Regions from separate parts of the Homo sapiens genome. Here region 2 is linked to region 1. Evidence: promoter capture Hi-C in human tissues and cell types (Jung and others, 2019). All regions are on one chromosome and are shown on one strand. Each heading gives the region's core, a stretch centred on a gene start or on the middle of the fragment in contact. The rest is flanking DNA. Distances are from core to core; before and after follow the strand shown.

What was found. The method cuts DNA at HindIII sites, captures the fragments that hold promoters and counts their contacts. A contact is called where the count stands out against the background at its distance.
Region 2: a fragment that was not itself captured here is called in contact with the fragment with the promoter of AFAP1L1 in region 1 in 1 of the 25 tissues and cell types used here (heart left ventricle).

The regions. Positions count from the first base shown.
Region 1 is chr5:149,270,507-149,273,206 of GRCh38, reverse strand. It overlaps AFAP1L1 (actin filament associated protein 1 like 1), which reads right to left and starts at 1,348. Exons shown (of 19, transcript NM_152406.4): 1 at 1,223-1,348. The coding sequence starts at 1,238. RefSeq lists enhancers at 1-287, 288-829, 830-1,369. The HindIII fragment of the contact is 7,342 bases long and covers 1-2,700 here.
Region 2 is chr5:149,036,146-149,038,966 of GRCh38, reverse strand. It overlaps SH3TC2 (SH3 domain and tetratricopeptide repeats 2), which reads left to right. Exons shown (of 17, transcript NM_024577.4): 8 at 477-672. Among named protein-coding and RNA genes, the nearest start is that of MIR584, 25 kb to the left of the region's middle. The HindIII fragment of the contact is 8,887 bases long and covers 1-2,821 here.

The DNA.
Region 1 (2,700 bases), core at 99-2,598:
TGGCACAGCACTCACTAGTTTATCTAGTGCCGTCACACCTGTGATCTCTTTGGATCCCAGAGGTGCAGACTGAAACCCTGGGGTTCTGATTCCCAGCCTCTGACACTGTTCACATGTCCAAGCAGGCCACTTCTTTACAGACACACACATGCCCATCTGGCCATTGCCAAAGGCCATGTCTAGACCTTTACTTAAAATGTGCGCTGCCGGGCGCGGTGGCTCACGCCCGTAATCCCAGCACTTTGAGAGGCCGGGGCCGGCTGATCACCTGAGGTCAGGAGCTCCAGACCAGCCTGGCCAATATGGTGAAACCCCGTCTCTGTTAAAAATACAAAAATTAGCCGGGTGTGGTGGCGCATGCCTCTAATCCCAGCTATTCGGGAGGCTGAGGTAGGAGAATCGCTTGAACCCGGGAGGCGGAGGTTGCAGTGAGCCAAGATCGCGCCACTTCACTCCAGCCTGGGCAACAAGAGCGAAACTCCGTCTCAAACAAAACAAAACAAACAGAAAAAAATGTGCGCTAGCCCCCTACGAATGCTGCCCTCTCGGCTTATGTCAATCTCAATTTCAGTAAGTCCCCTCCACTTCTGTGAAACGTCTACCAAATACACTGGAAAAGGGTCGGCAAGGTGCCTTGGAGACCATCTAGTCCAACTTTGTCGCTGGTCCAGAGAGAAGGGCTGGGCCGAGGACACAGCTGGTGCGGGATAGAACCACCCCCGCCTCCTCCCTCCCTGGCGCACACATGCATGCACACGCGCGCCTGCTCACGGCGCTCCTCCTTCTCGCAATGCCCTAGGCAGCTGCAAACTTCGGTCCCCTAGAGCTTCTCCCTAGGGGCTGCCCACAGCGGGTGTTTCGGGAGTTGAACCTGTACACCTTGTTTTCCCCTTTAGAGTGGAATGAGGTGGGAGGAGCTCGCTGTCCTCCGGAAACTAGAGGGGGATCTTTTATGAAGTTACAAATCGTTAGCCTATGAAAACTCTGATTTCACACACGAGAGGCGAGTTGGCCCCAGGACACGGGCGTTGACACGCACCGGGTTGTCCCGGCAGCCGAAGGCACCTTTGCATAAGCGCCGCGTCTCCCAGTCCCCTCCGAGCGTTCCTCAGCCCCCGCCCCACCGCCCGCCTCTCTCCCTCCTCCTCTCCGGCTTCAGATCGTCCAGTCTCCCTTTCCCGCCCGGCGCCGCAACAAGTGCGGGCGTCGCGGCCCCTCTTACCCTGGCCTCGGTCCATGGCGCCGGCCCGGTCCCCGGGGAGCGGGCCGCAGGGCGCAGGGGCTCCGGCGCGGCTGGTAGCGGCCGGCGCGCTGCGCTCTCAGGCCAGCCCAGCGGCCGGCGCTCTCTGCGGTCCCCTCCCCCAGACAGGATGCTCGCCGGCAGCCCCCGCCCCGCCCGCGCCCGCGCCCGCCCCTCAGAGCCGCTCCCGGAATAGACCCGAGCACGCCTCGCCCCCTGGGCCGCAGCCCGCTGTCCCGTGGTGCCGCACACGCCCCGCCGCGCCCTGCCGCTCGCTCGCCCTCCGCGGCGCTCCCACTTGGGCTTGGAGGACCCTTTTCCCCGTCCGCACGCGTTCGTTCCCGCGCCCGCGCGGCCTGCCCCAGCCCGGACCCAGGAGGTGTGCGGCTTTGCTTGCACTCCGCTAGCGATGGGGTCTTACCACCGCACCCCTCAGCCGGCTCCATGCCGGAATGCGGAGACTGTTGGAGCGCGTTTTTATCCTAGGGAATCAAAACCCCCTTCCCTGCAGCCGCCACCCATTTCCTGGCTTTGGGCTTGTCTTCTCCATTCGCCGCGGGTCTTTCTTGAGCACCTTCTAAGCCAGACAGTGGGCCCGCGGCGATGCCGGTGCAATGTCAGTGGTGTTGCGAAAGAGGAGTTAAATAATAACAAAGATCTTCAGAAAGAAAAGCACCTGGGAAAGGGAGAAAGAGAGGCTTGCTGAAAGGTGGGCAAGGGCTTGGGACACTTTCAACTTTTGAGGTTCCTTGTGTACTAAAACGTGAAAACATAACGAGGATCTGGGAGAATTCAGAAAAAGAATAGAAAAATGAGTAACACGTGAAAACATGCAGAACAGGGTGATAAAAAATGTGGAAATGAATACTTTTAGCATACAAAATACAGTGCAATATAAGTGTACTTTTCGCAAGATTGTAGAAAATATTGCTATGACCAGTGTGGAACAGTAATGGGATCTAAGTTTAAAGCTGTATGAAGAATGTCAACTTCTTCACCTTATTAGTATATCCCTGTGAAAATAGGTCTCACTCATTTATACACAATATCAAATGTCTGACTTTAAGACCCTTCATAAAGTCCAGGACCAATTGTTCTCCTAGACACTGCTCCTCCCACCATGGGCCAGGCCATGGTTTTCAGCTTTGAGCTGACCACTGTTCCCTACTTAGAACATTCTGGAACAGGGAACAGCTACCACAGAGGTATGGAGGCAACAAAAGGCCTGGGAAAGACCCTCCTGTACTTTCCTGGACTGGGAATATTTTCTTTTCTTCTTTTTTTTTTTTCTTGAAAAGTCTCCCTTTGTCGCCGAGGCTGGAGTGCAGTGGCGCGATCTCGGCTCACTGCAACCTCTGCCTCCCGGGTTCAAGCAATTCTCCTGCCTCAGCCTCCTGAGTAGCTGGAATTACAGGCGCCCACCATCACTCCGGGCAAATTTTTGTATTTTTAGTAGAGAC
Region 2 (2,821 bases), core at 186-2,685, 230 kb after region 1:
ACTGAGGGTCATAGAGGCCAAAGGAGCTGGAAGGACATGGAGAGCTTCTCTGGTCGAGTGGTTCTCACACACTGGTCTGTGGATTTGTGCCAACCATGACAAAGCATTTACATTACAGTGGCAAAATCAGACAAACCAGGACAATACAGTGAGCTTTCCAGTTTCCCATAAGCTATGTTTATTCATTTTTAAGGCATATCCGCTATCTGAGAATCTTTTTTTGTGTTTGTTAAAACATTTTTTCTTTGGTGAAAGTGGATTGTAGTTCTTTTAAAAATATGTCCTAGTTTGGCAAAATGAAAAGCAAATTGTCCTGTGTCATTCCTGCCAATTTTTGGGTGGGGAGGGGAGTGAAATGTTACTGGTCCTTGACATTCTAAAGTCTGGGAACCCCTCATTTTCTATTGCATTGGAAGGTGATGGGAGGCTCAGCTGTTCATGTCTTCTGTAGCTGATCTGTGTGCTATTTTCCACAGGCAGAGGACGCTGTAAGGCCTTGACGGGTTATGAGCCAGGAGAAAAGGATGAACTGAATTTCTACCAGGGAGAAAGCATTGAGATCATCGGCTTTGTCATACCTGGGCTTCAGTGGTTCATTGGAAAGTCGACAAGTTCAGGACAAGTGGGCTTTGTCCCCACCAGGAACATAGATCCTGATTCTTATTCCCCAATGTGAGTATTGACAGTGAGCATGTCCTGGAGCTGGGCTCCCTTTCCCAGGGTTCCCTCCCCTCTTTGAGCAGATTTGCAGTTGAGCTTCGAGGGTGCCCTGGTGACATGGAGCCAGAAAAGCACATGCTGACACCAAGGTTGATACAGAGAGTGATAGAAAGGAGAGAATGCGTCAGTTCAGTTTATTTTAACAGGTGGTCACTGAGGACTTCCTCTGTGCAAGGAGGGAAGCAAAACTCCAAGACAAAGGGCATGCTGTTAGGCACTGAGGGTGTGGTTTTGGTACTTGGATCCTGCTACCCACACTGTCTAACCACAGGGCCCCTTCAGAGGAAGGGCACACACGGGGAGAAATAGATTAGCAGCATGCTGATCCCACATAGGGCTGGGAGGTGGGTCCCATGTAGATCTTCACTCATTCAGCTTTCAAGCTGAATGCCAATGTGTGACTTCAGCATTGGCTAGGAGGGCAGAGTGTTTCTCTTACTCTTTTCTGCCTTGAATCCAGAAAGGCTGGTTCTGAGGAGCAGACCCATCTGCCTGGCCAATCAGGAGAAGGTGATCAGCCTGCTCCACCCACCCTGTCATGGAAGGACAGAGATATCGGGTATTGCTCCATCTTTTTGGAGTGGGCTTCCTATGTGGGGATAGGAAACAGTAGAAAGCCTGGGCGCAGGAAGTACACGAGGAAAGGGAGAGTTGGCTCCTAACACTGACACAACATAGCGCCCTACACTGGGAAAATGTGGCCCCAGAAATGTCTAACGATCTGAACAGAGACTTAAATTCTTTCTCTTGTGGGAAATAGCCAATGAAGAGAGCAGACCAAGGGGCAGAAGCTCCCTGTAAGCCCTGCCCTTCGTGGGGAGAGGAGGAGACAGAAGGTTATTTTTTTTCTATGTAGAAATGTGGGAGTCCAAATAACTATAAACAAGGAAGACCACTCACTGAGCTCCTGGAGAGGTATGGAGAACTATCGGGACTTGTAAGGAAGAAAAGGATATCAAGAGAACTTCATGAAGAAGGGGACATGTGAATTAAGCTTTGCACAATGTAAAATATTTCAACAGATGTTGATGGGAAAAGAGGTCATAGGTAGGAAAGTGAGTCAGTGCTTGAAGAACGACTCATGTAGTTTGGAGGAAGTTACCAGAAGGTCACTGGTGCAGCAAAGGTGGGTCCATGCTCTGGAAACCTGGGAATGCCTGTGTGAGGGCCCTTTCCTTAACCTGGCAGAGAATGGGGAGCTACTGCATGTCTCTGAGCAAGGGTGACATATTATATGACTGGACCTTTTCTCTAGGAAATGAAACCTGGCTTTGGGGGAGGCATGCATCATCAGGGGGAATCTGGAGGCAGGAGACCAGCGAGAAGCCCACGGTGGCACTTAGAAAAGGGTGAGAATGGAGAGGAAGGCCACTGCTGAGGACCAATGGACAGGAAGTCAAAGATTCCAGGAGCTTTACAAATATGGACACCTGTGTTCTGCCTCCAGAGGCTGTTGTGTAACTGGTCTGGATGGAGGCTGGGCAATTATATTGATAAAAGCTCCCCAGGTGGGGCTGGTGGGCAACCAAGGTGAGAACATTGCTCTGAACCACCCCTTCATGTTACCACAGGGGGAACAGAGGACCCCAGGGATGAAGGAGCTGAACCCAAGGCCTTCCCTCTGGAACTTTAGAATCCTGACATTAAATCCAGTGAGCTCTCATTAAATGTCCTGGTGATTTTAAATCCTGACATGAAATCCAATACATTCTGGTGAGAAGTCCCAGTGAAAGGGAGAAAGAAAAAAGAGGATGGAAAATAGGAATGGGGGAAGAACCCTGGAGGATGCCTCCATTTACAGAGCAGAGGAAGAGAGAACGCAGAGAGGAAACAGAGGAGCCACAGAGAGGAAGAAACAAGCTGCGGGGGAGGCGGGGCTGACACCTGTGCTGTCATCAGAGAGGTACAGCAGGGCCAAGTGAGGAAAGAAAGGCCTTTGGGACTGGCCATTGGTAGGTCTTCTGGAAGCACAGTAGCTACATGGCTTACAGAGTTGTGGAGTCAGGGTCCCCAAAAGGCATTCATGACCATGTGAGTGCAGCTTGTGCCTCCACTGGCTTACCAGCTCCTTGTCTTTGGACATATTCATTTATCTCTCCAT